Linked DNA regions of Homo sapiens: regions 1 and 2 are each linked to region 3. Evidence: promoter capture Hi-C in 16 types of primary human blood cells and fetal thymus (Javierre and others, 2016). All regions are on one chromosome and are shown on one strand. Each heading gives the region's core, a stretch centred on a gene start or on the middle of the fragment in contact. The rest is flanking DNA. Distances are from core to core; before and after follow the strand shown.

Region 1 (3,932 bases), core at 1,076-3,575, 360 kb after region 3:
GCGTGTGGTTAAAGCCTGAGAATGAACAGCAGGTCAGAGGTGGGGAACCAAGTAGCATGATGCCATCCAAAGACCCAGAGAGACGTTTCAGGGGCAGAGCCAGGGGTCAGGATGGGGCAGGGGTGGGCCTGGGTTGGAGGAGCAGCAGGAAGGCTCGGGCACCAAGGCTGGGAGTAGGGTGAGAAGAGGGAGGCACTGAGGGCATGAAAGGTAACGTGGCCATGGACTTGCAGAGGACCAGTGAGTGGGAGAGGGATATTTCTTCCCTCCCTGATTTGATCCCATCACTGATGGGCATAGTGGGCCATGGGTGACTGTTTCCCTGACAGCATGCCTGGGAACTGGGGCATTCTGAACTGCCATTTGGGACCCTCTTCTGTTCTACATAGAGTAGAGGAAGTGTTTCTTCGGGCCAGCTTGGAGAGTTGGAACAAGTGTCTGCCAACTGGGTAATTTGAAGGGTTCTCAGGAGACTCACAAGTCCCCAACCAAAGAGAAAAACACTTTCTCTATCATCTTGTCCAAATGCAGGTCTTTTCAGCATTAGTGATTTATAGAGATGATTTTCAAAGTCTCATGAGTCCATAAGAGGTTCCATGAAATTGCACATGGCATTGGCATGCACACAGGTGAAGCTGTCACCTGCTAAGGCATTAGTTTGGCTGGTGACATGTGACAGTGAGACCCTGAAGCTTGGAGGTGCCAGGTCAGGAGGCCGTCAAGTGGCTTGAGAGTTCATGTGCAGCCAGGACTAATAGCCAGGCCTTTCACTTTTCAGTCAAAGGGGGCAGTGGCTGGACCCAGTGGCCTTCAGTCAGAAGATCAAAGGGCATGTGGCATTGGAAGAGAGAACATGCCAGGCAAGGTGATCTCTTCCAGTCTGAGGTTTTATTTGATAGCTTAAGGACTCAGAGTTAGTCAAAATGCAATGTCTGAAGGCACCCTTCCTTCTGACACCAGTTGCAGATTTGAAGGTGTTTCTTAAGCCCCCACTCAGGTTTGATAATTCACTACAAAGACTTACGTAACTCACTGATAACTGTTATTGCACGATTGTGGTTTATCACAGGGAAAGAACACAGATTAAAATCAGCCTAAGGAAGAGACACACAGGGCAGAGTCTGGGAGGGTTTCAGGTGTGAAGCTTCGTTGTCCTCAGGACGCTGTGTTCTCCTGTGTGAATGTGGGACAAAACACATGGGGTGTTGCCAACCAGAGAAGCTCACCCAGTTAAGGAAAAATTCCTGTGAATCACATTAGATCAGGAAGCCTTTATTCAGGATTGTGTTACAGGGGAGGGAGACTGAGCCCAGCTCCCAATATAGTAAAGACAGAGGGGGAGTCACAGCCAACACCAGGGTGAGGAGTGGGAGATGGACCAGTTCTGACTGGAGACACCAGAATGGGGGGTTTCTGCTAAACTGGCCTAACAAGCTGCTCAACTAAAGGCAGGTAAGGAGCGGGTGAAGACCGTGATCAGACAGCAAGAATGCTCAGACAGCAAGTGGGGAGGACCCTCCCTAACTGCCTTGGGGGATTCTTGCTGAACTGGGGCAGTACAGGCCCAGCAAGCACGGGATGGGCATGGAAGGTCAGCGCCTAGAGGAGAAAAGGCTCAGAGCAGCCTGACTGGAGTTTGGCCAAGGAGAAAGTCTTTCTCAACCTATGCCTCAATGTACAGAGCTCTTTCTGGGGCTGGATCACAAGCTGTCCTGATGGCTGACATGGAGTCCCCAGCCCCTCCCTGAGGTCTAACACCCTTAGTTCCCAGTTCCTTTGGAAGGCAGAAAAGATACGTAATAGCCCCAAAACCCATCACCCATAACATTGCTATACTGTGCTGTAGCCAAACCACCAGGGAAACAAAGATGTTCCTACCAGGCAGGACATTCCAGGGCCCCAGAGATCCCTTCCCAGGGCCCAAAGACAAAAGAACGACCTCTCTTCTAATAAAGTTAATCCTTCACTGTTCTATGATCCTCTGAATGAAGGTCTTTTTGCTCCGAACCCACTTCTCTTTGTTCATCTACAAAATTTCCCCTCTCCACACACTATTGGAGGGATGATGTTGACCTCTCTTGCTTGAGGAGCCATCTTTATCGAATACCTACCACTAAAGAGCATCTGAAGATGACTTTAAGTTTTTTATTCCCATACAGAATAAGTACTGTGGCATATCTATGATATACAAAACATGTTTAACCTTGGAAAAATTATTTTAAATTTTTCCATTTAAAATTTAAAGCTTTATTTCCATTTGACTCATAGTAATAGCTCTGTGATTTATGTAGAACAGATCTTATTGAGCTGATTTTACAGATAAGTAAGCTGCCTTTCTTAATCATCTGTCCTTTATTGGTACAGGGATGAGGCAGATGCTCTCTACGAAGCTCTGAAGAAGCTTAGAACATATGCAGCTATTGAGGACGAATATGTGCAGCAGAAAGATGAGCAGTTTAGGGAATGGTTTTTGAAAGAGTTTCCCCAAGTCAAGAGGAAGATCCAGGAGTCCATAGAAAAGCTTCGTGCCCTTGCAAATGGTATTGAAGAGGTCCACAGAGGCTGCACCATCTCCAATGTGGTGTCCAGCTCCACTGGCGCTGCCTCTGGCATCATGTCCCTTGCTGGTCTTGTTTTGGCACCATTTACAGCAGGGACGAGTCTGGCCCTTACTGCAGCTGGGGTAGGGCTGGGAGCAGCGTCTGCTGTGACTGGGATCACCACCAGCATCGTGGAGCACTCATACACATCATCAGCAGAAGCTGAAGCCAGCAGGCTGACTGCAACCAGCATTGACCGATTGAAGGTATTTAAGGAAGTTATGCGTGACATCACACCCAACTTACTTTCCCTTCTTAATAATTATTACGAAGCCACACAAACCATTGGGAGTGAAATCCGTGCCATCAGGCAAGCCAGAGCCAGGGCCCGACTCCCTGTGACCACCTGGCGAATCTCAGCTGGAAGTGGTGGTCAAGCAGAGAGAACGATTGCAGGCACCACCCGGGCAGTGAGCAGAGGAGCCCGGATCCTGAGTGCGACCACTTCAGGCATCTTCCTTGCACTGGATGTGGTCAACCTTGTATACGAGTCAAAGCACTTGCATGAGGGGGCAAAGTCTGCATCTGCTGAGGAGCTGAGGCGGCAGGCTCAGGAGCTGGAGGAGAATCTAATGGAGCTCACTCAGATCTATCAGCGTCTGAATCCATGCCATACCCACTGACCCCAGACCAGTGCAGCCAGCAGGGGAGGTGAGCCATACACAGGCCACGACAAAATGCAGGCATTTTATTAGGGGGATAAAGAGGGCAAGGTAAAGTTTATGGAGCTGAGTGTTAGTGACTTTGGCATTTCTGTAGCTGAGCACAGCAGGGGAGGGGTTAATGCAGATGGCAAGTGCACCAAGGAGAAGGCAGGAATGCTGGAGCCTGGAATAAGGGAGGAGAGGGGACTGGAGAGTGTGGGGAATAGGAAGAAGAAATTTCCTTTAGACTAACGAATATATTGGGGGGAGGAATAGAGGGGAGGTGTGCAGGAACCAGCAATGAGAAGGCCAGGAAAAGAAAGAGCTGAAAATGCAGAAAGCCGAAGAGTTAGAACTTTTGGATACAGCAGAAGAAACAGCGGCTCCACTACCGACCTGCCCCCGGTTCGATGTCCTTCCAAGAATGAAGTCTTTCCCTGGTGATGGTCCCCTGCCCTGTCTTTCCAGCATCCACTCTGTCTTGTCCTCCTGGAAGTGTATCTCAGTCAGCCAGTGGCTTCTTGATGATGGCGGTGGAGGTGGTGGTTGTAGTGTGATGGATCCCCTTTAGGTTATTTAGGGGTATATGTCCCCTGCTTGAACCCTGAAGGCCAGGTAATGAGCCATGGCCATTGTCCCCAGCTGAGGACCAGGTGTCTCTAAAAACCCAAACATCCTGGAGAGTATG
Region 2 (3,617 bases), core at 927-3,426, 260 kb after region 3:
CAGGCAGGAGTGGAAGGAGGAAAGGAAAAAAGACAGGATAGGTAATGAGGTGAGTGGTCACATTCTTGTGAAGCTTTGATTAGCCCTCCTTGAATCCACAGGTTGTCTATGAAAGGAGGGGGTAGAGGAACAGTCAATTATTCATTCGTCTCATGCACAGTTCGTCTACATTTTATATAAGATAAAAATGAACATAGAGTAGAGGAAGCAGGCATATGTGCATTTTTCTGAGGGTGGGCAGAAGTCTTGTTATTTATCATGTACCAGTAAAGATAAGTTGCTAATTTGCATTGTCACAATGAAATTACACAAAGTCTGCCTCAGGGTAAAAACTGCTGGGACCCACAAGGAGTTTCCTTGTGAGCAATTTGTGAAGGAGGCTACCTGGGGAACATGTTGCCTTTTGTCTTCGCAAATATCTGCTTAGAAGCAAAAACAAAGGCAGGTTTTGGAGTGACTCCGTTTCTAAGCTTAACTGTTTCCAGTGAGTTTTGGGGTCCCAAGATTTGATTTTCCTTTCACGTTTTCTCCTTGTTCTTCAACAACTTTTTTTTTTTTTTTTTTTTTGACAGATTCTTGCTCTGTTGCCAGGCTGGAGTGCAGTGTTGTGATCTCGGCTCACTGCAACCTCCACCTCCCGGGTTCAAGTGATTCTCCTGCCTCAGCCTCCCAAGTAGCTGGGACTACAGGCACGCACCACCAAGCCCAGCTAATTTTTGTATTTTTAGTACAGACAGCGTTTCACCATCTTGGCCAGCATGGTCTCGATCTCTTGGCGTTGTGATCTGCCTGCCTCGGCCTCCGAAAGCGCTGGGATTACAGGCGTGAGCCACTGCGCCTGGCCGTTCTTCAACATCTTTTGGACAAAACACTGTAGAAGCAAATGAGTCTCTGGTCACGAGTTTGGTCTGAATTCTATTGTAGCAGGACGAGCTGCAGACAAAACCTCTCAGACACCGAGTAGTAGAAGGAAGGGCTTTATTCAGCTGGGAGCATCGGCAAGCTACTGCCTTAAAATCCGAGCTCCCTGAGTGCACAATTTCTGTCCCTTTTAAGGGCTCACAACACTAAAGATTTCACACGAAAGGGTCATGATTGATTTGAGCAAGCAGGCGGTACGTGACAGGGGCTGCATACACAGGTCGTCAGGGGGGAACAGAACAGGGCAGGGAGTTTCACAATGTTCTTCTACATAATGTAAGGAATCTATGAATAACATCGGCTTCTGAATCATAAGTTGATTTTTAACTAATGGGTTTAGGCCAGGCGGGCCCAGGCCTGGTTTCGGGCCTGGCGCCGGGCTGCCTGTCTTTGGTTTTACTTCCTTGTTGTTTTTTCTTAAAACAGGTACTGAGTACAAAACAATATAAAAATAATATGAGAGGGTCTTTCTCTTCCTTCACTATAACACAGTTTTCAAGCTTCAGTTTGCAGGACTTTAAGAAAAGCACAGTTTGGATTTCTGGTGATTCCAAGTCAGAAAAATGAGAGAAAAAGAAAAGCAAAATATTAGTTTGGAGACTTGTGGCCAGGAAAGAATTCAGTATGTAGTCCAGATAAACTGTGGACAAACAATACGGCTAGAAAACAATGGAGAAAGCTAGAATCCAATAACAGGCATTCTCTAGTTTCTTTTGAAACATACCTTTTCTCTCTCTAGTCCTGTATTTCTACCAAAGACAAATCATAGTAGGGCTAATTTATTTGCAACAGAAGTTTTAGTCTGATGGTTCTTGGCCTGATCATTTGTATAAAGTGCAGCAAGAATACTTATTTGGCATATGGGCTCCTTTTGGAAATTGACTTTGCTACAATATTTTCTTTTTCATAAGATATCTCAGAGTAGGCCTTTTAAAATCTCAAGCTCAGCCAGTGATTTATATTTGCCTGCAGATGCCTATATATATTAGGTGAGTTCCTTTCTCCTCAAGGTCCCAAGGTAACTTGGGCTTCCTGGGCCTGTCAGAAAGTGACATTCTTTACTTACCACAGGACAGGAACCCTGTAAAGGAACTGTATAGGCAAAGTTTGAGGAAAATTTTTCAAAGAGGCTTTCATCGGCTCTATAAGCCAGCCACCATTACTCAAAGCAGCCTACGTACATGTGGAAATATGCCATGCCAGTCAAAGCCTTGGTAAAATAACCAGTGTCTCTAGTTGTGTCCTGTTATGAAAGAAAACAGATTCCAACTGAACTTATGCAAATAACTCTATTGCCATGAACTAAGAATACTCACAAATAGTTTCCAAATTCTGGAGAAATCAGATAGTGAGAAAGAAATATGCTTCAAATTTTGCTCACAAGAGTATACTTTATTCAATTGTTAAAAGCTACATGGAGCCCAAAGGGAAAAAGAAGTTTTCTTGACTAAGAAAAACAAAACAAAAGAATCAGTCGTATATTAAACAAAAAGTCATTAAAAATTTATTTTTGTTCTCCATTAATTCATTCCCATGTAATAACCTTCTTCCACTTGATATTGGGTTAGCAATCTTCATGACCACATCAACTTTTGAATTACAGTCCTGGAAGATTTATTTTTTTCTTAGTCCGATGGCACAATCTGTAGCTGATCATAAACTGTTTTTTGAGATGTAAAGTAAACACTTTTTGCAGATAACAAAAGTATGAGAACAGCATTGGTAAAGACACATTCGACAAGGAAATTACTTTATTTCTGTGGCAAACAACTACTTAACATAATAATAATAATAGTTTCTGATAACATATGCCAAGACATATTAGACCTATAGAATCTCGTACAATTTTGGAACACATATTAATAACACATTTATATAAACATAATCCAAAGAATGTTAAACACCGTTTTATATTTGTCATGCTGGACCCCTATGCTAATGAGCTGACAGGACACAGACTTGGAGAGACAGAAGAAAAGACCTGGAGACAGCAGGTGAGACATAAGCTTTATTCAGGGAGCTTATGTACAGGTTGCCCAGGAGCAGCAGGCAAGACAAGAAATCCCCTCCTGTTTGTCAAATGCATGCAGGTTATATGATATTCTTCCCAGAGCAACCTCCACTTAGCACCTCTGCCAGGAAACCTCCACCTAGCCCAAAACAAAAGGTCTTGATTCCTTGCACAACCTCTGATCCAAGGAACAGAGTTCTTCATAAGTATGATGTAAACATCTGGATTGGCCATTCCCGGGATCCATACCTTGGAACACTGAGCAAAAATTCACCAAGGAATGTAGGGTTATTCTTAGGGGATGCTTCAGTTATTGCTGTCTGACGGGACATGCCCACCATGCTCTCCACACCCCTGCATAGCCTTGAATGGCCCTCACAATCTCATCACACTGTTTTTCTGTGATTTTCCTGGGGCCAGTTTTGTGGAAGAGCATTGCAGCCAGACACCCCAGCAGCAACACTAACCTCAACAAAGGATTATGAACGCAATTGCAATTACGCTAGATACAAAGTTTCTCCACGTGTCTGGGAGTTGATTAAACCATGAGGTGATAAGATCATAAGACAAAGACTCTGTGGCTGGACTCTGGGTATCTAACGTCAGCAGAGCCTGTGTTATGTTATGAGAGTAATGAGGGCTATATACACAACATTTTGTTTTAATTAATGCACAAGCTCCACCA
Region 3 (3,950 bases), core at 739-3,238:
GTCTTGCTCTGTTGCCCAGGCTGGAGTGCAGTGGCGCAATCTCAGGCACTGTAAGCTCCGCCTCCTGGGTTCACGCCATTCTCCTGCCTCAGCCTCCCGAGTAGCTGTCCACTGCTTTTATCTGTCCTGCATGGGGCTACCAAGTTGACTGCTGCAGTAATCCTACATTCAGAAACTCCCAGTAGCATCCTGTTGCTTACAATCTAGGTTCAGCCTACTCGTAGGGCCCTACCATACTTGACGAATTCTGTTTAATTTCCCACTACTGTATTCACCACATAAGACCAGCAATTATTTTAGGAACTTGTTTGCCAGCACCCATTCTCATAATCTTCACAACCACTAAGAAACAGACATCCCCAAATTGCATGACTATCAAAACATCTCATATGCCCCATAAATATATACACATATGCCCCCAAAAATTTTTTTGAAAAATTGGCCAGGGGCCATGGCACACACTTGTAATCCCTAGCACTTTGGGAGGCTGAAGCAGGATCGCTTGAGCCTGGAAGGTCAGGGCTGCAGTGAGCCATGATTGTGTCACTGCACTCCAGCCTGGGTGACAGTGAGACTCTGTCTCAAAAAGAAGAAATAAGACATCCCTACTTTATTTTTGGCAAAGTATTCTGCCTGACCTCTCTGGTTGCAATGCTTATTCAACAAATGCTTAAACTTCCGTATGTCAGATACTGGACAATTTCTGCTCTGAGGGAGCTTTTCTCTGATGTTGACACAGACTGAAGAAAGTAAATGACATTCGGCCAGGCGCGGTGGCTCACGCCTGTAATCCCAGCACTTTGGGAGGCCGAGGCGGGCGGATCACGAGGTCAGGAGATCGAGACCATCCTGGCTAACACAGTGAAACCCTGTCTCTACTAAAAATACAAAAAATTAGCCGGGTGTGGTGGCGGGCACCTGTAGTCCCAGCTACTAGGGAGGCTGGGGCAGAAAAATGGCGTGAACCTGGGAGGTGGAGCTTGCAGTGAGCCGAGATCACGCCACTGCACTCCAGCCTGGGCGACAGAGTGAGACTCCATCTCAAAAAAAAAAAAAAAAGAAAAAGTAAATGACATTCTTTGGTAGGTACTTGTAGGCCTGAGAGGTCAGGAAAATTTTTCTAAGGAGTCCCCAGCTACGATTTTTAATTCAAAGAATCTCCAGCCATGCAAATCTGCAGGCTCGCAGTTCTTTCCACCTGCCCTTCCCCCAAGAACACTCAGCCCCATTTCACTGGACTTTGAAGGTTCCTACACTGACTTCGTATTTCTCCCCATGTAAATCTCATGCAGGGGCCACTTGCCACCCCTGGGAAGCCAACCTTCATCATCCAGTTCACGTTATCTTCCTCCTGCCATTTATCTTGCCTCCACTGAGTTTTAATTCCAGGCTCCACTTCCTGTGATTGTAAACATATCCCTTCATCCCTATGTCTCCATTTGACCAGTCAGCTACCAAATGTCGGAAACAATGCCTTGCCCACCTCTCCTATTTGGTGGAAGATTAGGACAGTCGTGTATGTTACTTGGTAAGCAGTACACTGAGTCACTGTAGCAAACGCTTGTTAATTGGCTTATCGGTCCTGGCTCCACCACGCTGGTTTCCAGTCCCACAAAACTGGGTAGGCCAACTAGTTTTAGCGTTTGGCTACATTCATGGAATATGAGAGCTAGGATTAGCTCCAAAAATCACGTGCTCCCCTCCCTCCGTGTAGAGAGGCACCTTTTAAAACGAAGGACCCAGTTCCCCATCCCGGATCTCCAGACCTTCCACCCTCGCGGGTGCGCGCTAGCCCCAGGCCCCTCTACCAGCCCCCGGAGCAGCGAACGCAGCACGCGCGCGCCTCTCCCGCGCTGGGCCGGAGCAGGCAGCCTGCCAGCTGGTCCCGGCGTGCCGCGCGCCGCGCACGTGACCCCGCCCCCTGCCATTGGTCCGGGCGCGAGGGGCGGAGCCGCCGCGGAGCAAGCGAGCCAAGCGCGGCCTCATTAGACCACGGGTTGCAGCCGGAGCGGCTGGGAGGTTCGCGCGTTTCTCAGGGTTCGGTCGGAGGCGGGGAGGCCGGAGCTGCGGGCGTAGGGACCTGGCGGCTCCTGAAGCGCACGCGGGCGGGCGGCAGGTGTGCGCGGCATCCCTGTCACGTGGCCGAAGAGCCTGGGGCGCGCGGACCCTGGCAGGGGGCGGGGCGCACGCAGGCCACACCCACTTCAGGCTCCCACCCGGTCGCTGGAGAGGGGCCAAGGCCTCTGGAAGGTCCAACCTGGAGGGTGGTTCAAAGGGGTGTTGGGCACCCTCAAATTAGGGGAAAATTGGGGAGTACGCTCTCCTTCCCCAGGGTGGAGGTTACTACAATCATAAGCGGGGAGCCGGTGCCCCTGAGGAAGGAGACCCTGAGGGAGATAAGATGGAGGGGCTCGGGATTCCGGGGAGCCCCAAGTCCCAGCTTGAAACGGTGGAGTCCGGGCAAATGAGCTCTGAGGACGGCTTCTGGGCCTGGCCGTGACCCAGATTGCAGTGAGAGTTCCCGCAGGCCCCGCCTCTTTCTGGGCCTCGTGTCTCCCAGCCGCCGGGCCGGGTGCGAGGCCTTACCCCTCTGATCTGCTGCAGGATGGGCCTCTCCGCTGCGGCCCCGTTGTGGGGTCCCCCGGGGCTGCTCCTGGCCATCGCCCTGCACCCAGCGCTGTCGGTGCCCCCGCGCCGGGACTACTGCGTGCTGGGCGCTGGGCCCGCGGGCCTGCAGATGGCCTACTTCCTGCAGCGCGCTGGACGCGACTACGCAGTGTTCGAGCGGGCCCCGCGGCCCGGCAGCTTCTTCACACGCTACCCGCGGCACCGCAAGCTCATCAGCATCAACAAGCGGTACACGGGCAAGGCTAACGCCGAGTTCAACCTCCGCCACGACTGGAACTCTCTGCTCAGCCACGACCCCCGGCTGCTCTTCAGACACTACTCGCGTGCCTACTTCCCCGACGCCCGCGACATGGTGCGCTACCTGGGTGACTTCGCGGACACGCTGGGGCTCCGTGTCCAGTACAACACCACCATCGCCCACGTCACTCTGGACAAGGACCGACAGGCCTGGAATGGCCACTACTTCATCCTAACTGACCAGAAGGGCCAGGTGCATCAGTGCAGGTAAGGCCGGTGCCAGAGCTCACCTGCGGAAGCTGGGACCTTCCCCACACGAACCACACACCTTGATTGGCCAGTAGGTATGGGAGGAATGGACGAAAAAGGGTATTTCGCTTTTTTTTTTTTTTAAGACGGAGTCTCACTCTGTCGCCCAGGCTGGAGTGCAATGGCACGAGGTCAGCTCACTGCAACCTCCGCCTCTCTAGTTCAAGCGATTCTCCTGCCTCAGCCTCCCCAGTAGCTGGGATTACAGGCAAGCACCACCACACCCGGCTAATTTTTTTATATTTTTGGTGGAGATGAGATTTCACGACGTTGGCCAGGCTGGTCTCGAACTCCTGACCTCAGGAGATCCACCCACCTCAGCCTCCCCAAATGCTGGGATTACAGGTATGAGCCACCGCACCCGGCCTTCAATTCTATTTTTGAAACCACTCTGTGATCAAAGCATTCTTCTGCAAGCCGGCAGGATCCAAGTCCCCAGCTGCCCTCCCCTGGATGGCGATCCTCACCAATGGAAGGAGCAGGACTTTGGAATCAAGCCTATCTGTGTTTAGACTCTGGCTCTGCTGCTTTTAGGAGCTCTCAAGCCATGGGCCTGCAGGGCCTGTGCCTCCTCACCTGTAAAGCAGGCCACATACCACCTCCAGGTTGCTTGGAGGAGTCAGAAAGATGGTGCACAGATACACTTAGTACAGGGCCTGGTACAGAATTACTGCTCAGTGGATAGATGTATCTGTCAGAGGACTCAGAAAGGGGAAAGTAGAATGTCAGGTTTCATTTCATCACCAGCAGTCATACCTGGTCTGACTGCTATGTGC

Evidence for each region. Contacts are between HindIII fragments. The CHiCAGO score rates a contact against its expected background, and 5 or more counts as called.
Region 1: a fragment that was not itself captured here is called in contact with the fragment with the promoter of FOXRED2 in region 3 in 1 of 17 cell types (activated CD4 T cells); the score reaches 6.2 in activated CD4 T cells.
Region 2: a fragment that was not itself captured here is called in contact with the fragment with the promoter of FOXRED2 in region 3 in 2 of 17 cell types (non-activated CD4 T cells and naive CD8 T cells); the score reaches 5.6 in non-activated CD4 T cells.

What each region holds. Positions count from the first base shown.
Region 1 is chr22:36,140,491-36,144,422 of GRCh38, reverse strand. It overlaps APOL3 (apolipoprotein L3), which reads left to right. Exons shown (of 4, transcript NM_145639.2): 4 at 2,365-3,932. The coding sequence ends at 3,223. Among named protein-coding and RNA genes, the nearest start is that of APOL3, 18 kb to the left of the region's middle. RefSeq lists enhancers at 2,469-2,968, 2,969-3,470. The HindIII fragment of the contact is 156 bases long and covers 2,248-2,403 here.
Region 2 is chr22:36,248,021-36,251,637 of GRCh38, reverse strand. No RefSeq gene overlaps it. Among named protein-coding and RNA genes, the nearest start is that of APOL1, 3.3 kb to the left of the region's middle. The HindIII fragment of the contact is 1,506 bases long and covers 1,424-2,929 here.
Region 3 is chr22:36,505,078-36,509,027 of GRCh38, reverse strand. FOXRED2 (FAD dependent oxidoreductase domain containing 2) reads left to right here and starts at 1,988. Exons shown (of 9, transcript NM_001102371.2): 1 at 1,988-2,019; 2 at 2,605-3,132. The coding sequence starts at 2,606. RefSeq lists a silencer at 1,742-2,241. The HindIII fragment of the contact is 16,870 bases long and covers 1-3,950 here.